Regions from separate parts of the Homo sapiens genome. Here all the other regions are linked to region 2. The links are contacts of gene promoters, found by promoter capture Hi-C in blood cells and fetal thymus (Javierre and others, 2016). All regions are on one chromosome and are shown on one strand. The core of a region is centred on a gene start or on the middle of the fragment in contact, and the rest is flanking DNA. Distances in the headings are between cores, read along the strand shown.

Region 1 (6,622 bases), core at 3,696-6,195, 910 kb before region 2:
GCTCAAAGACTCCTCTGATAATACCAGATAATAGATACTCATCTGCTCTGAACTAAAGGATCACTGAGCAGAACCCAAATCTAGCCCGCAGCTGGAGGAAGAAGCCCTCCTCTTGGCTTTATGACAAGATCAGGTGATGCTCATGACTTCAATACATGGACTGGCCACTAAAAAAGGATTAAGACCACCTACTAAAGGGTTAGGGTGGTATGGTGCCACCCCAAAACAGGTAGGTGAATTCTCCAGTTTTATATTTTCTGAATTATTGTTTCAGAATATTGTTTCAGAAATCTGAGAATTTCTGAATTCTCAGATTTCTATAAACTGTAAGTATATACATAATTCAATGAATCAAATCAACAAATATTTATTGAGCACCAAGAATTGCCGGAAGGGCTGAAAACAGAGCAGTGACAAGACTAAAGAAGCCCCTGCCTTCTTGGAGCTTACAGTCTGGTCAGGAAGGCAAACATTGAATAAGTAATCATCAGTGTTAACAAGAACCACCTTCAATGGAGAAAGCAGCCTGCTTTGGGAATGCCTGGTAGGAATTTAACTGCCAGAGAGGAAAGGTTTCCCAGAGGAAATGTGAGACCTGAAAGGTGAGTAACTGTTAGCCAAGAAATGAGGAGGGGCTAATAAACAGATTTGGGTTTTCTTTTTCCTTAAGGGTTGTAATATGCTTTAAGCATGATCACATGATCATGTTCCCTTTATAAAATGATTACCTTGATGTATAAAAAATGGACTAGAAGTCATGCAAGAGCAATTACAAGGAGTGTAATTAGGAGGATATTACTATAGCCTAGGAGACAGGATTGTGGATATAAATATGAAAATACATATTTCCTATGCATATGGGAGTAAAATGAATATGACTATGACTTGGTGCCTAACTGGATGCAAAAAATGAAAAATGCCATGCAGGGTCCAGGAGGTGAATCAGGGATTATGTCCAACAATCTGTTTATCACAAAATAAAGCAGTAAGTTCAAGGTAATTTGGTTAACCTGATTAATGTAGTAGGTAATAAAGTTGCTTAAAACCAAATTCAGCAAAATTTCTCTTACCTGAGTTGTTTGTGTGTTTTAATGTAATTAGAGAAGTGCTGATTCTGAGCCTTATTTAATGATGTGCATGTAGTTTCAATTAATGAATGGAGTTAAACACTAAACATTTCAAATATCCATTCTAAAATTTCAAAGCAGGTCCAAACCAAAGATTTCCACTTCGAAGGGCCTAAGTCAAATATAAACCCTATTTCCATATTTTGAAAATTTCTTCCTTTCCAGGAATTATTAGTAGTAGAGTATGAAAATTATATCTTTTTTGGCTTGTTTTTAAATCAAAATTTTAATCCCTAGCAAATTTAAGAGGTAGAAGATTATAGTGCTAAGTGCTAGGTTTGGGAATCTGACTTGGATTGAAATCCCAGTGTCATCACTTACTATGTTGACCTGGACATGTTAACTTCTCTGAGCTTCATTTTTCTTCATTAAGCAGGGTCTATTATTTCAAAAGTGATACTCCACAGTGTCTGTTTTCTTTCTTCCAATTTACTTCTCTTCTTCTGGCATTGGCTATAGGTGGAGTAAAGTGCCAAGTTTAGTGTTTTATGGTTATTCCTCTCTTGTTACTCAGGATGAGTATTTCTTGCTTCTTAACTCTGGTAAGGTTGCTTGTCAGCAACAGTGTGCCTCTAAAAGACATTACATAAAGCAATAGGATCAGCTGCCCTATGGAACATTAAAGATACTCCAGGACATATTTGGTAATGCTGATTAAGTCTCCATTCAGGCATAAGTGTGCTTGGGTGAATGTGGAGTACTATCACCTGGTTTGGAGTTTGCATGATCACCTGGACTCCTGTGTGCAACTTTACTGGGCCTACTGCCTGACCTTGACATGTCAGAGTTCAAAGACAAAGGCTAGAAACGGCCGTGGGTTATCCCTGGTATTTTACAGCTACCTTCTCTAAATTCTGTAGCCAGGCAAAAGGGGAGAGGGGCCAAATGAGAGAGTTTTATCTGACATTCTGAAAGACATTTTTGAACAAGATTAAAGATGAACTTTTACTAAAGGCATACACATAATTTACATATTTAACACTTCTGCTTTCTTTTATTTTTTCTTCTAGTCAGCTAAATTAACATTAATCTTTTTCAGCAAATCATATGAAGAATACTTAGGAAATTTCAAAAATACTTGGATTTTTTATGCCTCACAAATTAATGGTAATGATAACAGAGCACATCTTTTGGCAGTAATCATGGATTATGCTTCATTGTGCATCAAGAATTCATACTTTTCAAGAAGCTAATTTCAGGTTTCATGGCTGAAATTTATTCTTGGCCTGGAACAAACTGTATTCTAGAAGGCAAACTCAAAAGTCAATCACTTGATTATTCTCACCAAAGAAAGAAAATACTGGTACAAAACAAAACTAAGATCCTTATATAATCTACTAATCTAAATGACTCCAGTTATCAATGCCAGGAATGAAATGCATCTGTTATTGCTTGACTAGTTAAGATTAAGAAAGTAGCATACTTAAATATCTTTTCCCCACACACTCACCTCCCATTTTTGACTATTATAAATTCTGCAGTCTTTGTACCAATTAATTATTATTACATTCTTATAAATACTATGATATTCACCTTGTTTTATAAAAGAAATATGTGAGTAGATTCCATCTGTAACTTTAAAGGTAACTTACATGATTTTTGTGTTCAACACTAGTTCTTCATCAATTATGCCATTTGTGAGTACTTAATTTTATCCACTTTTTTGGGCTAAATTTTTGGGCCAGATTTTGAAGATTTTCTTCTGGAGTCTTTGCAAGTACAGGAATGTCTTTCCGTTGCTTATACACAGCAACAGTAACTTGAATGAATGTAAAATTTTCAGTTCCTAGTCTTGTCTTCTCAAAACTTTGCATATTGATCTATTGTCTTCTCATATCTGATGTTCTACATGAGGTGTCTGATTGTTTTTTTCTCTTTGATGATACACAGGTGTTCTTTTTTACATGTAGGTGTTTGTATGTGTCTTTAGTTTTCTTGATCCTATATATTCACTGATTTTCCTAGGTTTTGTTTAAATGTCAGTTGATTATTGTAAAATTTGCCTGATATGAAGAGTCTTCTTTTCGACCAAAGGGTTCTTTTATCAGATTGATGGGCGGGATTCTACTATAGCTTTCCATATTATTTTCATGTCATTTATTCTAATATTTTTAGAAAAGCAAATTATTTCTATGTTTTTACTGTTTTTTATGTTTATCATCTTTTCTCTGATGTTCTAATGATCTCTTCATATTCTTTCCTATGAAATCTAAGTGATTGTTTTCAAGGCAGTATTTATCAGTACTTTAATTTTCTGCAATGTAGATTGTGTTTTCTATTGATACTATTGAAAATTCTGCATTGGTTTTGCTTTTTAAAACTTTATCTCAGCTCTGCCTACTATCACTTTATCTCCAGCCTCTGTGTTATCATCTTTGTTTCATTTTACCATGCTTTCTTTAATTTCTTTGAGAAGCCAAAGCATTTTCTACCTAAAACTTCACTTACGTTTCCTTGAGTAAATCTTTAAAAGTATACTCTTGAGAAATCAAAATAAACTTTTAAGCCCTTCAATGGACTGAACAGACCATCCCTTGGCCAAGGACCCCAGAATAAGCTTGAAAACTGAGTTCTCAGCCATGAGAGCATGGGAGGTTAGACACGCCTCATTGTACCTCCTCCCTCTCTAACCAGGATGAGGCTTTCTTCTCTAAGGGCTGAACAGAAACCAGCCCTTTCAAGAGTCCACCACTGATATCAACCAACCAGCTGACACTGCCCCTCCTTTTCTGCCTGATAAGAGACCACCAACCACAGAACGATTCTGGTTAGTCTATGGAGAATGTGCAGTAAGGGTGTCCTTTGCTTCACCTTTTGACATAGAAGAACTGAAAATGCCACCCTTAGATGATGCTAATGCAGCCACTTTTGTACATGGGACCCACGAAGGAGCATTGAACTCCATTGCGTATGTGCACATTTCTCCTCTCATAAATATTCATAACTCCTCCTATAGTTTATTGAATATGCATATTTGTCCATCTTGTTCCTATAAATTCCTGTTCCCTTTGCCCCTTCCCAGCTTCTGGCTGAGGCTATGCTTCCTAGCCTGTCAGAATAGCCAACCTGCAGGTTGCAACACTTTATGAGAAATCAAGGTCTCCTTTCGAAATTTATAAACTTTGTCATTCTTCAGCTGATACTTTCACCTGATCTTTTCATGCTTTGTCTTCTTTTGCATTGCAGAATCCCATCATAGACTCAAAAGTGTTCTTTTTTTTTTTCTTCTTCTTCTTCTGGTTACTCATTCTTGAATAAGGACAAGCTTATCTGGGCTTAGTAGATGCCCCCAAATAATCTATGCTGTTTCTTATGGTTTCTTCCTGGTTTTCCTGGGCTCTGACAAGGCCTTCCTTTTCAAAATTAGTTTGGAATCCTGAATGAAAATTAAGAAAAAAAGTCTTTGTATTACCAATTCGGAACTTGGGTGTCTATAGTTGGAGGGGAAATGAGAGTGAGGATGTGGTATAGAGTCTCAGGAGGGCAATTTTTGCTCTGCATGTTTTTTAAAAAATCTTGGTTAAGACCCCTGCACCAGGGACCAACTTTCTGTCTCTGGCTTTCAGTTTGGCCCAATCTGTACTCCAGATACAAAGTGTGGCTATGTTTTTCTGGATCTCCCTCATGGAGGCTGTAGATTTCCTGTTGAAGCAGAGGATTCTCTCTTCCACCGGGGATCTCTCTATTTTTAAAAAGTGGTCCTCGCAGATCAGAGCAAACTGGTCGCACTGGGGAGAAAGTCCGGTCGCAGAGAAGCAGTGACCTCGTCTCCCTCCAGCACAGCTGCTCCTGAATGCTCTTCAACTGCAGCAGCTCTAGGTAAGCTGGTCCCCACCTCTCTGCAGTCTAGCATCATCTTTAGCTTTCCCTCCTTCAGATTAGGGGATTCGTCTCCATTTTTGAAAGTACCATCTCGTGTTGGAATCAGTTCTTGACTCCACTGAGAAGCTGGGTCATAAAGACGCACACTTCTCCCATGGTGTTCACTGGGTATAGCTGCTACTGTTTCTCAGAGTGCTGCTCCTGGAGACTCGAGCTGCTGTTAATCCATGGCGGTGATACTTTATTCTCTAGTGCCCTTTGGGACTTGGCCAAGCCCTCCAAAGTAAAGTCTTCTGGAATATTCTGCCAGGGTTTTCATTCCTGGGGTCGCCTTTGCTTATTCTCTGTAATATTGCTCCATTCTTTTGAAAAGAGGATTTGTGAGTCAGTCTTTGATATTATTCTAAACACACTCCATCTAAACCAAAATCATCAACTTTTGTCGTAAAGGGTTGCACAGTTCCTTAGATCCAATTCTGATGAAAGTTTTTCATTAAATTTTTTTTCTTTAGCCTTGTTCGTGGGGGTGGGGATTGGTTGTAAGCTTCCGCATATCACAGTCTTGTCAGGGATTGCAAGCTTCCTTCTTTAAAAAATTCCTTCATTCTTCTAGCAACATGTTCTAAGAAGTTAATCACAAGAGTTCTATGTGATATTTAAGAGATTTATTTAATTTTAGAGCTGAAAGGCTGTTATATAAGTAATCTAGGTTGGAAGCAAGTACTATGATTGATTTGCTCTCCTCTTATAGATGAGATATATGCAGTCTGGACAGTAAGGTCAGGTATAGTGCTTGTGAATACTCAATACTCAAGCTCAAGCATCCAGATGCTCTCTCTGGCTCTTCTTGCCTCACAACCTTTGACTAAGATCAAATATGTACACATTTTCTGTGGATCAAATAAGAAATTATCCATTTTGTCAATATCTTATATTCTTGATTGTATTTGAAAGATTAAAATAAAACTATAGTAAATTCAAAATGATCATTATATACCTATGTCTAATAAAAATGATCAAATAAAAAAGGATAGAATAGTAAGACCTAAATTGTCTGATTATGTTTATGCTTTGCTCTCTATGGTGATTGCCTGTGGATCACACATCACCAAACATAGATTTTCTAGGTTACAGTATTGATGTACAGCAAATTAGCTTATGCTTGATTTCCATAGTTGTTGTTACTTAGTCACCTCCCCTCAAGGCTTCTTTGCCGGATGTTCCAGCATTAGAGGTAGAATTCATGTCTGCCAGTTGTTCAAATAGACTTTTCTTTCTGGAGACATCTGCTTGCCTGTCACAGTGTTCTTGCGTGAAACTTCTGTACCTGCTGCTTGTCTGTGGTTTGGCTGAAGTATTGCATTGTAATTCAAACCTGTGCATACAGAAAATGCTCTGAAATGCTACATTTTACAATTATCTTATTTAACCTTGCAGCATATAGCCACGATGGCTACTCTTTGTCTCTTTAAACTCGACTTTTCTGATTTCCCTGATATCTTTAAGGTTCAAAAAGAGCGTATGATTCTGGAATCATACTGTCTGAGTTCACTTCTGCATCAGTTAGCTATTCCCTCAAAAATGCTGTGTAACAAAATAACCATATACTCTTCATGGAATACAATAATAAGAATTTATTTCTCATATGTCAGAACATCAGCTGGGATGGTTCA
Region 2 (7,211 bases), core at 2,980-5,479:
CCCTGTGGAGTGAAAGCTGGTTTTGTTCACAGACAGTGGGCTCACACCAGATAGGGGCTGGGAGCTGTGGTCAACTGCACCAATGAAAAGATTCTTATGCTAATATTTTCCTTCCAAATGCATCCTGGAACTGGTCAAGACGTACCTCACCAAAGCCACTTTTTCCTCCTTTCTGCCCATGCCTGCCTCAGGAAATAGGTGAGTCAGGTTTTACTTGAGGAAGTGTTTGTTGTATTTCTGATTTTTCATGCCATTTTTTACATAGTTCTATATATTCAAACAAACAGAAAATCACAATAAGCTCTATCAGTAATTATTATTGGTGGATTTACTATTTGTAAGAAATATTAAAGCCATATGTTGAGACTTCTCCAGAGAGAAGTAACGGTAATTATCTTTACCATTTTATCTCTCTTTTCCAGAGAGATAAACATGGTATCTTACAAACTGCAAATAATCTCCAGAGAGATTATTTGGTATCGTAAGATACCATGTTTAAGCCATTTCATCAATATGAAATATAAACCTTAGGCAGTATTTAACCACAAAATAAATAAGCTTTTTAACTTTTAAGAAGTGGTCAGCTATATCTAGCTATGAATGAACAGATGAGTATATAATGAAAACAAATCACACTGCTTACAACATTCATGTATCTATTTCTGAAACACATTACAAATCTCCACTAAGAGCAGAGTACAGTTGAAAGAGATTCTCAGAGCATCACCACACTAGAGAGGTAGACGTGTGCAAAATCAGCCAAGGATAGAAGGAAAGAGGGTGTGGTACACAAGGAAGGAACCAAGTGAAGACAGAGAGGCAGGCAGCTGACCTCCATGTACTAAATTGCATCCCTAGGGGGGAGGCTGAACGAGGCCTCATTAAAATGCATAATCTCAGCAGTTCAGTTAAACAGATGAGAGCCTAGACAGGAGATGATCACTAAGACAGGGCCTCCATGACCCATGGGTAAGAGCCTCTTCTTAGATCTCATGTACTACGGAGAGAAAGCAACACCCAATTCTGGAGTTCCTCTTCCTTCCACATGCCTGTGAAGATTCAGACTCTTGTTGTAAGCCTCTAAACTCTTGCTGATTCTGTGTAGAGACCTAGTTCCAAATACATAGTTGATTCTCTGATTTCATCCAAGTTGTTGGTGCTGCTGTAATACTGCCTCCGTTGGCTGCTGGCAGCCTCCTAGTTCCAAACACATAATTGATTCTCTGGTTTCATCCAAGCTGTGATGCTCATGCCTGCAATATTACCTCCACTGGCCAGTGACAGCCTCCTGCCCATCCTCTGAGACTCAGCCCAGGGGTCATCTCCTTTGGCCTCTCCTTCTCTTTGCCCTGACCTCAGGTTCAGGGGCCCCTCATTCCACCTCTATGTCTCCCTGAGCTCCTTCTCTCATCTCCCGTGTTGTATACCTGTTATCTGTGTATTTGGGAGTGACATTCAAGATCTTTAACAACTGGAACAGCGCTGGCAGAGCCCTATCAGAACATAAGCCGGCTGTATCATACCAGTGCCAAACGGCCACCTGTCGGCCTGGGGTAAGGTGACTTTCACCCACAAGACAGTGAACTCTTTAAAAATAGGGCTGTGTTTTATTCATTGATATATCACCAGTGCCCAGAACATAGGAGATGTTTAATAAATGTTTGCGGATTGCTTGAAAAGTCTAAGGTTGACAAAGACAAGGCAAGGAGACACGGTAGCTTCCACCAGTTGTCTTCATATTTAATGCCCATACTTAAACCTCACTCTAGTTTCGTGTATCTGCATGATAGTCAAACTAGGCAAAATGTAAAAGAAAAAGAATATTCTGGGCTTCCATGAGTGAACCTTGAAGGGCCCTAAAGGTTTAGGTAATTAATTAAACATTTGTAAATTCTGGTCAGTTACAAAGTCTGTTACCTCCAAGAACAGTACTCCCTACTCACAGCTTCCAGAGCCCAGTATTTGTAAACCCATCTTTCTATGTTTTACTCAACACAAATTCTTACTACTTTTTAAAAATTTAACCAACTCAACAGATGACATTTTTAATGGCTGTTGAATTGTGATAAGCACCTCTTGCATTATTGAGAGTTAATTAGAAGAGCATAAGCTTATTTTAAGAATACATAACTGATGAAATTTGCTCCTGGGACACCGGAATTAAAGCAGGCTAGACAGTCTCTAGCAAAATCACACATCAGCCACACTCTCAAGGCATCAGTTATGCTGTGTGGACTCAGTACCAAATATCCCTTAGTTGAAGGTGATTCTAAGGACAGCACTCTAGTAAGTGTAGGATCTAAGGCTGCACTTGGTACTATGTGGGCTCCTCCACTAACATTTCCACCAACTTGGCTTTGTTTTATATTCCAGACCGGAGCATTCATAAATGGGGACTTGTGCTAAATACAATGTGTATTTCATTTTTTCCATTTTGTAAAATGTGCATGTAGTTTGTTATGGGATTTTAAAAAATTCCCAGAAGCACCATCCTATAGCAATAAAATGTTGTTTTAATCAAAAGCTTGGTTGTACTACATAACAAGGAAGTTCATAAAACCATTCAGTGTGAAGGTTTTTAACACTGTTGAAGAAGGAATTTTGCAGTTACAGAAAAGATTAAAGGAAAGGACTGTTTTGGTGAGCCCTAAAGCAAAACCATGGATCTTGTGATGAAACATACATTCTGCCATGACTGATTGTCACCAGAAAGGTTTTGAAGGCATATTACAGCACTGGATAAAATAAATCTATATCAAGCTATAGACAAAGAAGAGGGCTGGATGCTCACAGCTTGATGCTACACCATGACTCTCCAAGAGGCTCACTGGGCAAAGACTCAGGTTAGTTCTCCTGGCCTTGAGCTGGAGGGTGTTTTTTGTCCAGTAAATAGGGGCTGTGCTACCTCTTACAAAGCAAGCTTTATTGGGTAAATGAATGAATGATGAACCCAAATAAAGATTATTTTGGAGAACTCAGATGTAGACATGGAAAATTTCTTTGCTTTACAAGAGCTCACAAAGATAATTATATTCTATTCGCCTAACACATAGGGGAGCAGAAGTAATGAGCTTTCTTAAATGCTATTTCTCTGTAACACATTGCTGATGTCCTACATTTTACCATCATACACATCTTTTCAGGTAGTCTGTATTTCTATATGAAACATGGAACCCAAACAAATTGTTGCTATGAAGTGATCAGGGTGTAATATATCTTGAAATGGAAGGAAAGCTAGTATAATTCTAATTGTATAGATTTTAATAACTACATAGAGGTTTAATGTTATAATATAGTATATGTATCTTGAAGATCAAAATGTTTTAAGGATTAGTTTAAATATATAATTTTTCAAATTTGTCTTATCACTTCATTTTGTCCATTGTTGCAGAACTCAAGAGTTGTTGCAAATAAATAAATTTTTATAACCTGCATCTTAATAAATCATGCAAAATAGTTGACATTCAGTCATTATACAATTAACATGGACCCAATGAACCTGGTTCTATGAACAATGTCTAGACACAGTAAATGTTTAATGAAATTTGGTTGTTAGAAATTTATATCAGAAAAAAGTATCTATATGGGTTAACTTTAGCAATCATTCTATTCCTTTCGCTTGATCTCTGATGGATTAGAAGTCTATTAAATATCTCTACATTTTGCTTGACACAAGTGCATTGTAATTACAGCCATCAGGCCATCCTTAGCCATTTATTATTTTCATTTACTAAAACAGTCTCTACGATGATGACACCCTGTGGGATTAGGAATCTAATGGAAACAAAAATCTTGAAAAAGTGAAGATTGCAGGGTAAGACCCCTCATCAGAACAGTATCTTAAGAATGAAAAGGTAAGCTAGTGTAGGAAAAGTGAATCCTCAGGGACGCTAAGGAGGGAGCCTTCCTCCCAGCAGTGTTGCCATACCTAGCACCAGCTTTCTTTCATCTTGCTTTTATATCCCCCACTGCATCATCATAGTTATCTAGAGACCTCACCAGGCAGGCTGACGGTCATGTGTGGGTTGCCTAATTACAGGAACCTGAGATTTGACCACTTGGCAGCCAATTTTCTCTTTATGTAGAAAGATCTAATTGTTTATGTAATCATCACCATCATTAATACCTCAGAGATGACCTCATCCAGAAATGCTGGGAACTGGTGGAGTAGGACATGGGCGGAGTCAGTGTGTTCCTTTAAATACCTGTGGTCCCGGTGCAGCCTCCCGTGTCTGAAAGCATTTCTGGAGTGTTTTAGGCCTGTTCACTTTCTCTTACTCACTGTCTATTCACTTGTCCTGTTCACTCGTCTGGAAGATCTCAGCCAGCACCATGACTGACAATGAGCTGTCTGCCTTGGTAGTGGATAATGGGTCAGGGATGTGCAAGGCAGGCTTTGGTGGTGACGATGCCCCCCGGGCTGTGTTCCCCTCCATGATAGGGCGTCCTCGACACCAGGGCGTTATGGTAGGCATGGGCCAGAAGGACTGCTACGTGGGAGATGAGGCTCAGAGCAAGAGAGGCGTCCTGACCCTGAAGTATCCTATCGAGCATGGAGTGGTCACCAACTGGGACGATATGGAAAAGATCTGGTACCACACATTCTACAATGAGCTCCGTGTGGCACCAGATGAGCATCCCATCCTCCTCACCGAGGCACCCCTGAACCCCAAGATCAACCGGGAAAAGATGACTCAGATCATGTTCGAGGCTTTCAACACACCAGCCATGTATGTCGCCATCCAGGCTGTGCTGTCCCTCTATGCCTCAGGACGGACCACAGGCATCGTGATGGATTCTGGGGATGGGGTCACTCACATCGTGCCCATCTATGAAGGTTATGCCCTGCCTCATGCCATTCTACGCCTGGATCTGGCAGGGAGAGACCTGACTGATTACCTCATGAAGATCCTGACAGAGCGAGGCTATAACTTCACCACCACTGCTGAGCGGGAGATTGTGCGAGATGTCAAAGAGAAGCTGTGCTACGTAGCCCTGGACTTTGAGCAGGAGATGGTCAGGGCAGCCGCATCCTCCTCACCGGAACGGAGCTATGAACTTCCTGATGGGCAGGTGATCACCATTGGGAATGAACGCTTCCGATGCCCTGAAGCCATTTTCCAGCCTTCCTTTCTGGGCATTGAGTCCAGTGGGATCCATGAGACAACCTTCAACTCTATCATGAAGTGCGATGTGGATATTCGCAAGGATCTCTATGCCAACACCGTGTTATCTGGAGGGAGCACCATGTACCCAGGCATTGCTGACAGGATGCAGAAAGAAATCATAACCCTGGCACCCAGCACCATGAAAATCAAGATCATAGCTCCCCCAGAGCGGAAGTATTCTGTTTGGATTGGGGGCTCCATCCTTGCCAGCCTGTCCACATTCCAGCAGATGTGGATCAGTAAGCAGGAATATGATGAGGCTGGTCCTCCTATCGTTCACAGAAAATGTTTCTGAATGGGCTTCCATATTAGTGGGCTTACATTTTCCCTTTTCCTAGGTCACAGTGATGGTACTGCTTTTATCCGCTTTCAGTAGAATCGAGGTAAATACGTCACTCTTCCTAGTGTAAACCAGCAAACCCATCTCTCCATCCAAGTAACCTGGGCTCTTACCCAGATAACCACATCCGGTTCTCCATCAAGTGAAGGTGAATTCTAATACCATATTCCTTTTTCTTTGCCTATACTGTTCAAAGATAGGTAGGCCAGCTTAAATACATATAAGTGACAAGGAGTAAAATCACGAGAAATGTCATTTCAGAATGGATAACTATAATTATCAAGCTTTAAAACTTAGTTCTCGCTAAAATATTTAACAAGAACAGGCTGTATAAACTTGTTTAAAAAAAAAAGGTGCGTATGCATTTAGCAGCCGTGTCTTACTAGTTAAGTATCTTTGTTTTGTTTACTTCTTTGTATGGAGATAATGAATTATAAAGTTCAATAATATCCATATATACATAAGCACCAGGGAAATAAAATATATTGTGAAATATGCTGATGTATCTAGCTATCTGAACAGCTAATGTGAATTTCTTTACTCCCAAAAGTCATCGTTGTACTAGGTACATATTTTAATTGTTTCCCTTACTAAATAAGCATAATGAGACAGCCACCATTCCATTAATGTTTATAAATCATCTAAATTTTCAGCTCATAGTGGAGTTCTGCTGGTCAAATTATATTTTAATATCTTTCTTACTGAACCTTCTCATACCAAAACTACAGACAATGTCTAATTCTTAAGAGAGATAGATATTATAATATCAAATTAATGTCATTATGGTACAATTTGACAGAGGTAATTTTATTTCTATTTCTTAGTGTAATAGCACATCTTAAATAATTTCTGTAGACCAGGATTACAGATACTTCTCTTGTGCAAGGATTTCACTGTGGGAAAATATAGCTGCAGCATCTTTATTAATTATACATTTTACTACCAGTATACTAACACAGTTTTATCCTTGGAAAGCTTTTAGAATAATTCTACTTTATTATGTCCAGTAACTAGCAATACTTATTTATGCAAAGTGTCTCTGAGATACTAACATCTTTGAAAATATCAATGTATGTTCCTATAATGTCTAAAATATTTTAGTTACTCCAGTGATGATTTATTAACCAATTTTAAGTACCAGTATGTTTATTCCAATCTATGCAGTGATTTCTGAATATTTGGATATCAGCATTATTTGTATTTTTCAGGGTAATTTCTGAAAATTTAAAATATTTATTTGGATTGCTTATTCAGGCATTATAAGGTACTCTGGAGGAAGGAATCACTTCTCTTTTTTTCTTAGTTGGGAAACTTGTACTTATGTTATAAATCTTTAAAATGGAATCAGTAAGAATTTTTTGTTTAAGGTAATACTTTTCAAATAATTTGATTATTCCTTATTGGCTTTATCTGACAACATAATCTTTAAAATGCATGTAACCAAAATTAATCTCCAAAAACACTTTATTTTATATAACTTGCTTTCAGTACATTAAAATTGCTTCATACTTGTATACTTAGATTTCCTGTTATTTCTCCTCAACCATTCCCTTAGAATTAGAGAATGATCCAGATAGCATCTCTTTTTATATGTGTGACCTATTCATCTGTATGTTACAATTTTGCACCTCATACATTTAATCATGTAAACATTAAAAGGCAAATTTTAAAAAAAGGATAGCTAGCCATTTAACATTATATAG
Region 3 (7,149 bases), core at 1,120-3,619, 930 kb before region 2:
TTATACAAGTTACCATTATAATAAATTATTTATTACTGAATCACATAAATGCTTTATATATAAAAATGAATTATAAATTTATTTAAATGTACTAACACATTGAAAAGATGCAATTTAAGGGTTCATGATAACACAAATTTGCAAAACTCATGATATTGAAAGCTGTTGTTACAATGAAGTTCATTAGATTTCAGGACAGGTAAAACAATTTAGTTTCAATCTTTAAAAATATTGTGTACTCAGCACTAGCATACAGACCAAAAGAATGCAAAATCTTCTTTTCTGGATTATTTTAGATAAGAATTGATAACCTGAAAGTAGAATAATGATTTATTTATGAGTTGGAGACAAAAATACCTTTAATATGGTCTTCACTTCCCTTGCTAGATTAATCTGCTGAAATAAATACATACCACTTGCAAAGTGAAACTTGGATTAATTGAGTTCATATTAATAGAAAGATGATATACCAACTTCTATTTAACTGCCAGAGTTCTACGCACATTCTAAATTTTTCTATCAGGCTTCAGTGGTAATATCTATAGAATAAGTTTACCAAGTTTTTAAAATAGCTGGAGATAGGATGAGCAAAATGATATTATTAATAATAATGATTTAAAAAGTGAAAGAAAGAATCCTAATAAAGACAATGCAACCATAAATGTGTTGACAACACGATCAAAAATTGAAATTATTCAAGATAACAATTTCTTTGTTATGCTTTGAATTTTTCAAGGTTTTAGAAAGATGTCTGGAGTCAAGTGATATTTACCAATATGAATACTGATTCACCTAAGAGGTAAGCTTCAGATTCCGCAGGCATCAGGAACACATAGTGAGTACTACTGGTTTGTGGAATTGGCTGATATCACATCCTGGTATGGATAACTATTCTATGACAGTTAGGACCCAAGCCTCATTGCCACTGAAAGGAAAGGAGAAGCCTAAAAGAGTGGGAAGCCAAGTTCAAACACAAAGGTCAAAAGTATTGTGATTAGAATATATTAAATATCTCCAAAGCCCAATGGCTGAATAGAGCCTTTTTCATATTTAGAGGCACTGTTTGAGGTTTTCTCTATTTCTTTAGTCAAAGGAAAAGATCTGTGTAGTAACTAAAGGTCTTTAGTAAGTGTCTAGATGGGTATAGTTCAAGAAATGTGCTAAGCATATTTCTTGTGTTATGGCATGAAGCCTTTACAACAGCCTTGTGAAGCACATGCTGTTGTTAGAATTACATTTTCACAGATAAGAAAATCAAGTCTCAGGAAAGGAAAATTAATTTACTCAGTCACACAGCTAAAAATGACAGAGACTGACATCCTGGTCTACATGAATCTCAAATCCAAGCTCTTCACCACTATTTATAATGCCTCTAGTGAAGTGGCTACTCTAACCATCATCTCAAATATGAGCCCTAGAACTGAGTCTGTATTTGCACCTTATATGGTATCTAAATCTACTAGGAAGTTTAAAAATACCAAATGAGGTACGTTTAGACAGAACCTGAGGACAGCTGTGTTCCCCCACCTCTCTTGAGTAATTTTGCCTGTTCTGCAAGTCTGGTTCATTCCTCAACAGCTCTCAGTGTGCTCCCTGACCCACCCCACTGGGTCTGTGTCCCTCCTCTCTGCTTCTTTCATTGGTAGTGCATATGTTAGGACAGAATTGATTATTTTTTATTGCAATTGTCCTCTCGCACTATGTCATTCCCCCATATTATCAGCAGGGTCACTGAGGGTAGGTTAGAGCCTTGGAGAAAAAGAAATTTGGGGCCTCAGAAAAGACAGATTTGTACTGACATAAGTCAACTGCCATGTATTTTTATGCCTTCCCCAACATCCTTCTCACCTCCCCACAAATTTTAAGGAGGAATTTTAAAAATTCAAGCACTCTCTTTCCTCTGTGTTTCCACCATCTAAGATAGTATCTGGTATATATACCAGCAGGCAGCACATTTTGGTTCAACTGGTAAATATGATAATGGTATGTTTTAGATAGGTCTATAAGTCTGGAATAAGAGTAAATTTATTCTATACCATTGACTCAAGTTTCTCATGATCACTAAAACAAATTTGGCGGTGATTTTGTAATTGATCATTTCCTGTATAGATGTAATAGCATAGCAAGGTAGTTTCAAGCACTGTGTCTTAGTAGTATTATCTGTGAAATGAGGGTAATAATAGCATTTTTTCCTTAGATTTGTTAAAAGGATTACATGAACTAAATATTGTAAACTTTTTAGCATAGTGACTGACACATAGTAAGTAACAAATACATAAATATTAAGTAAAATTTGGATGAAGTCTGTTTTTCTACTAGACTGTAAGTTCTGTTATAGTAGGAACTGGAGTTGTGCCTGTTAGTGCTCATAATTTTGTTATGAGTACCTAGAAAAGACCTTCAGTAGGTATTGATTAAATAAATAGCCTTAAAAAACACACACGGTGTTACTTAAATCAAAACTTGTATTTTTTTATTGTGTAAATTTTCTAGCACGTCCTCAATGACGCCACTGCCCATCTAATATACTTTGAATTTCACTTGGATACAGTGTTAATGAGAACAGGCTGCTAAAAAGCAATTACATTCAGATATTCATGAATGTTTAGGAGAGAGAGCATGAGGCCATGACGGGAGGTGGAAAAGAAAAGACTAGGACAAATTTGAGACTTCCTGTGATGAAGAGAAGAGGCAGGGAGCATGCTGGCACACTCAAAGGGTTTAGCTGAAGAGAGTTTCATGAATAAACTCTACTCCTTGCAGAGGTGTGGCTGAATTAAGGGAAGGAGCAATGGATGGTGAAGCTCTCAGGAAATGGCAACAGTGGAAAACTATTAGCATGGGGTGGGATGGGGAGTGGGAGGCAAGTGGAAGCAGTGTTATTGGATCCCAAGAGAGCTGGAGACCTGGAGACACAGAGGTGAGACCACCTGAGAGTTCAAAAGGTATAATCCTAGAAAACCACCAAATCCAGCAAACAGGCAAGCAGGGAGATGTGAGTGGTGGGCTTGGGAATCAATACCTCTATCTCTCTTTTACTTCCAGCCTTTTCATCTCTCATTGGTCAAACCCAACAAGAAGGACAAGGAGACCTGGATTACACAATCAGAAAAGGTGAGCCCTTTGGAGCTGGAAGCAGGGCATAGAATGATGGAAGGTGGATCTGGAGGGGTAAGGACCAGCACAGCAGACACAATCTCAGTAATTGATAGGGTTAGGTAGGGGAAGCAGAGCTGAAGTATAGGGTGATGCTAGTGCCAGTAATTAAGGTAGAAAAGCAAATGCTTTGTCCCAGGGCCTTGAAATTCAGAGAACACAAAGACTTTAAATAATGATTTGTAAAAACAGATTAAATTGTGAAGTCATCACCCTCAGTAAATTTATCATTTTGATGACTGGGCCCCATACAGAGTGGTGGGTTTGTGCTCTGCACAGAGGTGCTCCACTAAGGAGGTAGGTGAGGGTTGACATCCTGCCCTCATTTGTGCTCTAATTCACCCTCCTAGAGTTAGCAGCACTTCGTAATTTGCACAAAAGTGCCACAAAAACAAGCTGCAAAAAATTGGCAATTTGCTCTGGCTCCTAAAGCTGATGAATAAGCCCAGAGATTCGAGGTCAAGTCTGAAATGAATAAAGGCATCAGTATACCCTTCAGTCTACTCATACTTGTAATAGTATTTATATAGAATAGACTGTCAGAAGTGGAATTCTTAATCAAATGATAGGTTTATTCATTTTTTTAATAGACTGGGGCCAATATATGGACTTAAAAGTTTTCCAATAAGTCTATTATTTTGACTTTGACTCTAGTGTAGCCTAGAGTAACTTATCAACTGTTACCTTGCCTTGATTTTCGATTAATAATTGATATCAACAACAACAGTTCATTTCCCAGCTTTATAACTGCTGGGTTTAAGAGATCTTCAAAGCTTTACGCTTGGTACATGTCCTTCTAAGGATAGGTTAGTATTCCAAATCTCCAGATGAATTTAAAATTACACTAGTTATGGGGAAAGGAATGTTTGAAATTGGTTCTTCTCAGGTTTCCTGGGCATTGGACATACATCCATTACATTTCCAAAAGGTAGAGGAAAAAGAGATGAATGGACAAGAGTCTTTATTCTACTCACTCAGGCCACAATTTAAAGACCACAAAAAAGAAAGAAAAAATATTACTTTGACTTCTTCCAAACTATAAGAGTAGGTATTTTTCACATTTGTTTATACATTCTCTTCTCAGTAGAACATGGGCTTTCCTTCCAAGCTGCTGGAGCTGAGATTTTCCAAAGTAGAAATTTGTAGTCAGGGAGCAGAATATCGAATAACGCATAAAAAAGGATCTTTCTGGTTGAGTTTCTTTTATATAGCTTGCAAAAACGGATTTGAGCACATGTATGTCTGTTCTTGGCTTAGTTTATATAATCAAAAGATTATTGAAAGAAAAGCCATTTTGGCTTGCTCATCTGTCTAGATGGCATTACATCTTATGGAAATGTCTGGTACAGGTCTTCAATTCCTTTCCTCCAATTCTGAAATTCAAAAGATCTGAAAAAATGAAAAGATTTTTGTAACTTGTTCGGTGACAAAACCTTATTTGGCCTGAATCATTTGGCAGTAAATGTTGACATGAATTGACACAGGTCTATTTATAATGTTTTTTCATTCCTCTCAGAGTGAATATTAGCATATTTTAATGTAGTAGTGTGGTAATTATAAGATGATGCCCTAGACCTCTGATGGATCACTGCTGAGGATTCTTTGTAATATTTGGTAGATGCAATATATTGTGATTCAAAAATTCTACAAAATCACATAGTACAAAAACATCTGGCTCTCAAATTGTCAGATGCTTAGTGTTAGCTGTCGGGCTGCAGGCCAGTGTTGATAGGAGACATAATTATCAACCAAAGTCTAGCTTCTTTCTCAAAGAAGAATTGAAATGCCTGTGTTTTTTTTTTCTTGTGTCTCTTATAATGGATCTCTTTCTTATATGCTAAACATAATAGATGTTCAGTGTATACTGCTGATTTAATGATAATTGGGCAATATAGCTGGAAGCAAGAAAGATGAGGCATGAATGGGATAAACGAAAATGTGGAGAGAAAAAGATATATCTCTAAGGTGACAGAAGCGGAATAAATTTTCCAGAAGAGTAAGGTTTTGAGGAGGTAGAATTCTAAGAGGTGAGGCTTCCAAATGTAAGGTCTTTTAAAGATGCTCTTTCTTGCAGAGAAAACTAAAAATGATTTTTTTATCCTGTGCTTAATATTAGTCCAGGATACCTGTAATGTATTAAATACATTGTTTTCTTAAGGATGAAATAATTGAGCTACCTAAAATAACTAAAATCAATTAATCAGATAGCAATAATTTAAATCATTCTAGCTGAGTACAATATTCATAATTTAGTTTAATCTTCACAAAAATCATATGAGGAAGTATTGTTTTTCCCATTTTAAAGATGAGGAAGTTTCTAGATAAGTCAAATAACTAGTTCAAAGTAATATAATAGTAAATAGCGACAGAACATTCAGCCCAAGCCGAGCTCAGATACTTTGTGTTTAATTTACTGTATTGCACTTGATTCTGTCACACTATGAAATTCGTGGTTAAAAAAAAGTGGACAGTCCTTTGAATAATATAATACAGTATAATATGTGCTGGGTTTCATGTCTCATGAGGACTTAGTTAAGAGTTATCAGAAAAAAAAAAGATTGTTCAAACAGGACACATGCAGTGAACAGAAAGTCCTAAAACAGTGCTTACACAAATAGGAATTTATGTTTCTCACAAAACAAAAGGTCTGGAGGTGGGTTGTTCTCAGCATTAATTTAGTGGATTAAGGATGTCAGGTTGAATTTTTGTGATTTCTTGGCTTTTCCCCTATGGTCCAAATTTTCTGCTGCAGTTCTAGCTTTTATGTCTCCACTCAAGGTAAGAAGAAAGGGTTGGTGGGAGATAGAGCAGCTATGATTTCTCTTTTATCAGGAAAAAAAAGGTCTCCTTAAAGTGGGGAAGCCCAGCAGTTGCCTAATTATGTGGTCTCATGGCTGCCCTTAGGCGAGGGGGGGAGAGAAAGTGAAAAGCAATGTTGTGATAATTAGATCAGTCCAATAATAGCCCATCATTGAGGGCATGAGTCAGTCCACTTGCAAAGGGCCACTTAGTAAGTATTTTAGACTTTGCAGTTTAGATGTCTCTGTAGCAGCTACTCAACTGTTGCAGTGGAAAAGGAGCCCAAAAACAATATGTAAATAAGTTAGTTCCTCTGTGTCCAAAAAAGAAAAAAAAGAAACTTTGTTTACAAAAACAAGCAAGGGAAGGTCAGCATGGTGGCTCATGTCTGTAATCCCAGTACTTTGTGAGGCCAAGTTGGGCAAATTGCTTGAGCCCACAAGTTCAAGACCAGCCTGGGCAACGTGGTGAGACCCTATCTCTACAAAAAATACAAAAATTAACCATGCGTAGTGGTGTGCATCTGTAGTCTCAGATACTTGGTAGGCTGAGGTGGAGGAATAACTTGAGCCCAGGAGGTCGAGGCTGCAATGAGCAGTGATTGTGCCACTGCACTGCAGCCTGGGTGACAGAGTGAGACCCTGTCTCAAAACAAACAAACAAATAAACATAAAAACCAAAAACAAGCAGTGGAGTGGATTTGACCTGTAGCTGTAATTTACCAATCTTTAACCTAGAACTTGGTGCATTGCTGCCAAGTCAAATTGGGGTTTAACTATTAGCAAGGAAAAGGATTGGGGGTTATTGAGTAGAAAATAACAGTATCTGCAATTGCAGATAGAAACATTCTCTGGACTTTCTCTTTTCCTCCTAGTTTTCCAAGTTGCAGTGGGAGGGTTTACACTGTTGCACTATACAGTTGTAAAGTGCTAGACTTCACAGCATTCCATCAGGAGAACTTGCCGGGAGTTGGTTAGACAGGCTTGAGGCTGGCTGTTGGCCCACACAAACTGAACTCTCTGCTTTTGGTAATGACTGGCTGAGTGCTGGGTACCAGGGTGTGGTAGACAGTGATTGCTGCTTGCCCATTATCCATTCCCCTCTTTCTTGCTCACTATTTAGCAAAAGGAATTAATATGCTCAGAGACAGAAGTATATTTCCAGCCTCCCGTGCAGCAAGAAGTGGTCATGTGG
Region 4 (7,356 bases), core at 1,030-3,529, 960 kb before region 2:
CATGCCTGCGGGAGCTTCCGGTGCTGTAAACATTCACCCCTAGATGCTGCTGTGAGTTCAGAGCCCCAGAGCCTGTCTGCATGTTCCCCCTAGAGATTTGACCAAAGAAGCAGGACACACCCCCACCGCACACCCTGCAAGGGTGACGAGGGAACTTTTCCTGTTTCGGTAGCACTGAAAAGAAATGGAAGAATAAGTCTGACAAATAAAGACCTACCAAAGTTTTCATAAGCCAAGGCATCCACCGCGATGTAGACGGCTTCTTTTCTTCCTGAATTTTCACCTGATCGACATAAGGTTATTAAATTCAACTCATATCATTCTCTTAAATTCATAATGAAATTTAGGATAAAGGTGAATTTTGCAGTTTAGTCAACTAGGAACAAGAGATCATCCCTCACTTAATTGTATTGTTGGTTGAAATATAAATTTCATTAGCAGTTGCCATAATCTATCCTCATTTCCTTTGTTAGGCTTGTGAATAGACTCACTTTACTGATTCTGAAATACCTGGACTATGTGAGCTTATGTGGCTAATCTCTTCATTCTTTTTACCACATGGGGAGAGAGAATAAGATAATCATCTGAGGCAAAGCAACATATATGGGTGGCAAAAGGGCAGCTATAGCAGCAAGTTGCACCTGCTACATATGGATTTAACCTCATGAATTCTTTAATGAGGCAAACCTTTCATGTTTCTATTCACTATCCTGTAGGTATACCTGGCAGTTTTGCTACAGAGTGACTCAGGATTAAACTCCAAATATCCTCAATATAGATTAGTCATAGGGAAGGGCCAGTGACTGACAATAGGCACAAGAGAAGCACTAGGCTTTTTGGTTTTAAATAAATAATATACTCTGAGTTGAAGCAATTAAATCTTCCTCCAAATACAACTTTCTACCTAGATATTAAAGAAACAGAATAACAGTTGAGTTTTGTAGAATCTGATATATTTCTCTCAGATTTTTTCTCCTTCAGAGGTACACACACATATGCTTATTTTAAGTCAATCATCCTACAATTGCTCAAGTTAAAACCATATAGCAGAAAACATTTGGAATTTCAATTAGATATGTCAAGATTGAAGCAACTGGGTCAATTGCTTGCTGAACAATCATGAACATGACACTGATCCTATTTTTTATATTATAAAACAAATATAATAATAAAAAGTGTCTTAGAATTCATTAGATAGAACAATATAATATTGAGAGTATTTGACCATTTTGACCTACAACAAAAACCATTTCTTATTCGAAAATATAGCAAGAGGAGAAATTAGAAAGTAAGCTTCCTCCCCTCTCTAATTATTTTAATATTATATCTTTATTATTTCTCTATTCATATTACCTCTTTGTTTTATATTGATGTCAGTAGTTATTGATATTTATGTCATATTATACTGTTGTCATTCAATAAAGAGAATATCTTATACTTAATTTATCATTAGAATTTTTCAATTATTAATTGTTTCCTTCATCATGCTCCTGGGGGAATCAAATTGAGGAATATCCCAAAGAGAGAGCAATTTACTCTTTTTTCCTTTTTTTTTTTTCAAGATGGAGTCGCGCTCTGTCACCCAGACTGGAGTGCAGTGGCACGATCTTGGCTCACTGTAGCCTCTGTCTCCTGAGTCCAGGCAATTCTTGTGCCTCAGCCTCCTGAGTGTCTGGGATTACAGATGCATGTCACCACAACCAGCTAAATTTTGTATTTTTAGTAGAGACAGGGTTTCGCCATGTTGGCTAGGCTGGCGTGGAACTCCTGACCTCAGGTGATCCAACCGCCTCAGCCTCCCAAAGTGCTGGGATTACAGGCATGAGCCACCACACCCAGCCAGTTTACTCTCTTATGACTGACAAAATCAAAGGTAAGTCATATAAACATTTCCTACATTTTGACTCCTTTTATGTTGCCTTTTCTTATTATTGTCCCTTCTCAACTATCTTTAAAAAATTTCCCCAACTGTATTTTCAGGAATTCCAAATATCTTTGATATTATAAAATGTTTCCTGAAAAACATATTAACTGGCAAATTCTTTTGGGAATTGGTGGCTTCAATAAAATGAACAGATTTCTTTAAGTCAAGATTTTTCTAGAACTTCCATATCCTAAATTTGCGTTATGAATCTCCAAGAGAGAAATAGAGTGCAAAAGTTTTTCCAAACTTATACACACTGACACATTATTTTGCTTTAGAGTGCCTTTTAAGATCACAAAGAATATTCCCTGGAACATAGTTTGTCGATATATGTAAGTAATTGTCCTTTATAAGATACATTTAATTTAAAAAGATCCTGAACCTGTCAGATAGATTGGAATGTAAGTTCAGATCTTTCTTGTAGTAGGACAATAATTAGGTAAACAGGAAATTTAGCACCAACTTTGACATCATATATCTTAGTCTGTTTTGCATTTCTATATTGGGATATTACAGACTGGGTAATTTTTAAAGAAAAGGAAGTTATTTCTTACAGTTCTGGAGGCTGGGGAGTCCAAGAGCATGGAGCTAGCATCTGGTGAGAATCTTCATTCTGTGTCATAAGATGCGGAAGGCATCACATGGTGAGAGAGCAAGAGCATGTATATAAGCTCAGGTCTCTCTTCCTCTTCTTTAAAGCAATCAGTTTCATCATGGGGTCCCATCCTGATGACCTTATCTAATCCTAATTACCTCCCAAAGTCCCCACCTCTAATTAACATATGAATTTTAGGTTTCCAACCATGAAATTTGGGGGATGTATTCAAACCATTGCATTGTGGTTCCAGAGCTGTTACATGTTTTATCCACAACCTCACTCAGCAAGAAAATCTCCCTTCTAGAGGGAGAAATTTATGGTGCAGAGATCAACTGGATGGCCAGGTAGCTAAGGTAACTTTGCAATGTAGATATTCCATCTCCAGATCATAAAGAGTGGTTTCCAGTTGCCTTTTGCAAATTTCTATTTTCTTATAATGGCAGAACTGAAATGTTTTAAAATAAATTTTTGTCCATGTCCACTTTGGTTTGCAAAAGGCATTTTGTGTTTAAAAGAGAGCATGTTGGTAGTCCTTTACACTGAACAGGACAGATGTAGAAGCTATAAAGACTTCTTCATAAACCACTTTTGGGGAAGAACCTAACAAACAAAGCATGAGGATATATCACACTGAGTACATTAGAGCAAGACTTTTACACTTGTTCTTTGCCAAAAGGCCAAGAAGTGATTAAAGCAAGATTTTTTAAGTTAAAATTTAATATAGTTGTAGAAGAGTAAGCTTCAATTGATTTACTTTAATGGCATGAAGAAAGGAGTTATTCCTCCTCTATGTCCAAAAGTGACATAGAAACAAAATTTGGTAGGAAAATCAAGAAATCTTAATTGAATAATTTTTAAACAGTTTATTATACAAAATTATAAAGCATAACTTTACAGTTATGCTTTATTCAATTCAACTGAGATGCATCCTTCAATATCCACTACATGGTTTGGAACATGTTAAGCTTGCTATTGATAAAACAGTCCGTTTTTTTTTTTTCTCACAGTACTGAACAGCTGTGTACTGCCAAAGGCACAGTGCATATATACGGATGGTGACTACACAGTTTACCTGGGAAACTCTTAATCATGCCTTGTGTCAGTTAAAAATCTTTGTATTTGGCTGGGATTGGTGGTTTACTGCATAATATCAGCACTTTGGGAGGCTGAGGTGGAAGGTTTGCTTGAGCCTAGAAGTTCAAAACCAGCCTGGGCAACATAGCGAGATGCTGTCTCTCCAAAAAAAAAAAAAAAAAAAAAAAAAAATTACCTGAGTGTGCAACTGGTGTGTCAGGAGCCTGAGGTGAGAGGATTGCTTGAGTCCAGGAGGTGAAGGCTGCAGTGAGCCAAGATCACACCATTTTACTGCAGTTTGGAGGACAGAGAGAGATCCCATCTCAAAAAAAGTATGCATTTCTAAGATGAATTATATGGTTATCCCATGAAATACTCATTGCTATCCCATGTGAGTTTAATGTAGCTAAGATGCATTTAGCATGACCCACTTATGTTACCACACCTTTGATTTCAATTGCTTTTCCTATAAAGGTAGGTTAAATTTTTTTCATGCTATAAGCATTTATGACCTTATTTTTAGGCTTTATTAAGCACAACAGCAGAAAAATGAATTCGGGCTATGTACATTTATTCAGATCCTACTACACATTATATTATTTTTTTACTTTATCTGCTTTGTTGACCACTATGACTGTGGTGGTAAAAATTGTTAATGACAGTCAGTGACACAAGGTACCATCTGGTTTATGAGAATGAAAGAAATGTATTTAAGCAGGATATGGTTTCTCTAATCACCAATCTTTTGCAGACTGACTCATAATCAATTACCTGTCATTTCAACTTGGAAGTATATGGTTTGTTGTATTACATCGCAACGTTATTTCATCCTGGCTTCAGAGAGGAAGGACTGAAATAGAAATATGAAATCTTTGTTTCAAATAAAAGTGATTTGCTACAATTTTGGCAGACATAACTGGAAAAACAATTTGAGAGGAAAAATGAATGAATTTGAAGTGTGCTCTGGCAATAATAGGTCTCATTCATTATAAAATACTTAAAATGTGCTGTGATGTGGTGGTGAAACTCTGACAGAGTTTAAATATAGCCACACTAGCTTCTTTGGTCAATATTAGCTGAAATGCCAATGCTAACTAAACACACAAAGACGTCATAATTATTTATCTAGGAAAGGAAGTTGTAAAATAATGTTCTTCTGGATTCCTAGATACTTCAAAAGAATTTCTCCTTGAACTTAGTAACATTACCAATTTGCTAATACATTTAGAATTGCAATTGAATTGATATATTTTATGGGGTTCCTTGAGAAGTAAAAGTAAGAATGTGCTTTATGCCAGGCATATAACAAGTGGTTTGCTTTAGTGATGTAAATAATACACTAGTGTACTACATCACAATTTAAAATATTCATTTGGTCTTCCCTGATTCTAAGTGGCTTTTCTCTTAGCACTCATGACATAAGAATGGCATATTATGATTTCTTGAAGCCACATTTTAATTTTATTTGTGAGAAAAACAAAAACAGAAATGAAGACTGGGAGCTTTAATAACTTAAAATGAGACTTTCATTGTATGTATTTAAAGATTTCCAAGAATTAATAATCAAAAATATAGTCTTAAGTATCTTTAGGATATGTCAATATATTTATTGAAAATTAAAAAAAAATTGTTATTTTAAAAAATAGCAGATACTATAGGTTGTATCACAGTACCCCAGATTCCTGTAAAGCAGACTCAAGCTCTCATTCTTCTGCTCCATTAGTGAGTTCAGCATTGAAATGCCTAAAGTAACTGATTTTTTTAAAAAAAATCATTTATTTCAGTTACACAGGCAGTGTCTTAATTTCTCTATGTGTTTGAGTGACTTTTTCAGTGAAGCACAATGAGCTTTTCAGAAAAAGTATTACACATCCTGATATTTGACCTAGCACTATTGCTGTAGTACCAGTCTGATACTAAAACACACCAAATGTCTGTAGGGCAAGTTTCTTGTGACCCTGAAGGAATTTCAGGTCAATAAATTAGAGAGAATCTCAACATTTGGTTATATTCTAACATACTGATCCCATTGAAATTATTGTAGATTGTTTTCCAAACATCGTGTGCTTGTTTTTGTGGGCATGAGATGAACAAAAGAACAGTTTCTTGACAGGTTAATGGAAGAATGTTGCTCACTTTATAAAATAAAACAAAACAACACAAAAAACACATCTCTAACCAAAGCATGCAAAATATGACTGGTGCCATGAGGAAGAATCATTTAAGCTAGAACTTCCTGTATTTAAGAAAGTTAACAAAATTGTTTGAGGAATGAACTGGTTTTGTGTGTGTGTGTGTGTGTGTGTGTGTGTGTTAGACACTGCTTATTACAACTAAGTGAAGAACTTTGACAGGTGCTTTGCAGAGTAAAGTTAAAAATTACTTTGCAGAGTAAATATAATTATTTCTTAGAAGACTTTTAGCAGTGTATTAGTTTATTGTCTTCCTTAAAACAAAAGAAGGAAAAGCTAAATGATACTAATTAAATTTAGAAAAAAATTTCCTCCCCGATATAGTTGATAAAGTATAATATTCACAAAAATTCTTATTTGTGAATTTCAGATTCTTTGAGAAAAATGCTTTTGTATCATTTCAAAGTCAACTTTGATAGCCAATAACATCTTTATGGAAAACATTTTATTTGTTCAGGTGCTTTGGACAATCCAACCCAATGTGGAAGTTTGCATTTCTTATCTTAAAATGTCCTCTCAAGAGTTAGCATACCACATCAAATTTAAAAGCCATAGCTGTCTCTGTGGCTTAATGGTTTTATCCCTGCGAACTCTGGCTTGTTGAAGTATTCATTAGGAAGACCTCAGCTGTCTGGCTGCTGTACCTCAGGGACTGTTTGGAGAGCTTACAAACTCTCTAGTTCCCCTGCGCAGAAAGCCTGCCAGCCAGTCTGACTAATGAAGACAGTCAGACTGTCCAGTAAGCCTGTTGTGCCATTGCTGGATTATTTAGCGAAGTGGCGCTTTTAGTGTCCAAGCAAAGCCTGTTTCATCATTTTATGCAATTTTCTTGGCCAGTTTCTATAGAATATGTTGTTACCTGTGCGGAGCAAATGATCAATGTTTATGTCTATAGCTAGAACAAATCAGGTAAAACAAAGCTTCGGTGGACAGTATAAGATAAGGGGATTGTAGCCCTCAGCAGTTGTCTGTAAAACGGTAAGATCTATAAAATTGGAAAGTCTATTTGCTGCATTGGCATTCAAAGTAAAACAGGAAAAATAGTAATAATAATAATACAAATTGTGATGAGTTCAGTGTAGCAAGAATCTTTGATAAAACCATAATTTCAGTTAAAAAGCACATTTAAATGTGTTCAATAAAAGCCTCATATTTCTATTTCTAGAGCATCTCTTTCACAACACTTTAGAAGCATTAGTTCCTTCATTCTAGTGATGGTAGTGGGTGACAAGTATTATCCTCTCCATTTTAAAGACAGAAATTGATCATCAGATAAGCGAACAATTTATTCATCATTGCAGAGTCAGAGGTAAATAGAACCTGGAGACAAAGAATATGAATAAACTGAGTTTATCTCTTTGTTCATTTCATCCATAATTTTTTGAAGAAGACATACTGCCACTAATTCATCTGGAAAAAAAACATAAAGATGAGTCCTCCCAGCAGCTTAGATATTAATTTTTTAGAAGCTTGCCCACAGTTAGAAGGGAAGCATAGGACTGTGGCAAGGGAAGTCTCTGGAAGTCTCCAGAGCTGCTTTGCCACTCACGAGCTGTTTGACCTAAACC

What was found. The method cuts DNA at HindIII sites, captures the fragments that hold promoters and counts their contacts. A CHiCAGO score of 5 or more calls a contact.
Region 1: a fragment that was not itself captured here is called in contact with the fragment with the promoter of ACTBL2 in region 2 in 1 of 17 cell types (total CD4 T cells); the score reaches 5.8 in total CD4 T cells.
Region 3: a fragment that was not itself captured here is called in contact with the fragment with the promoter of ACTBL2 in region 2 in 1 of 17 cell types (fetal thymus); the score reaches 5.2 in fetal thymus.
Region 4: a fragment that was not itself captured here is called in contact with the fragment with the promoter of ACTBL2 in region 2 in 8 of 17 cell types (M2 macrophages, naive CD4 T cells, naive CD8 T cells and 5 more); the score reaches 8.7 in M2 macrophages.

What each region holds. Positions count from the first base shown.
Region 1 is chr5:58,394,063-58,400,684 of GRCh38, reverse strand. LOC105378984 (a long non-coding RNA gene) reads left to right here. Exons shown (of 3, transcript XR_948352.2): 1 at 1-229. Among named protein-coding and RNA genes, the nearest start is that of PLK2, 63 kb to the left of the region's middle. The HindIII fragment of the contact is 1,101 bases long and covers 4,395-5,495 here.
Region 2 is chr5:57,479,829-57,487,039 of GRCh38, reverse strand. It overlaps ACTBL2 (actin beta like 2), which reads left to right and starts at 4,229. Exons shown (of 1, transcript NM_001017992.4): 1 at 4,229-7,022. The coding sequence starts at 4,333. The coding sequence ends at 5,463. The region is part of intron 1 of RMEL3 (enriched in melanoma 3); the gene reads right to left. The HindIII fragment of the contact is 2,872 bases long and covers 2,923-5,794 here.
Region 3 is chr5:58,412,082-58,419,230 of GRCh38, reverse strand. No RefSeq gene overlaps it. Among named protein-coding and RNA genes, the nearest start is that of PLK2, 44 kb to the left of the region's middle. The HindIII fragment of the contact is 3,125 bases long and covers 807-3,931 here.
Region 4 is chr5:58,438,397-58,445,752 of GRCh38, reverse strand. No RefSeq gene overlaps it. Among named protein-coding and RNA genes, the nearest start is that of PLK2, 18 kb to the left of the region's middle. RefSeq lists an enhancer at 1-240. The HindIII fragment of the contact is 1,968 bases long and covers 1,296-3,263 here.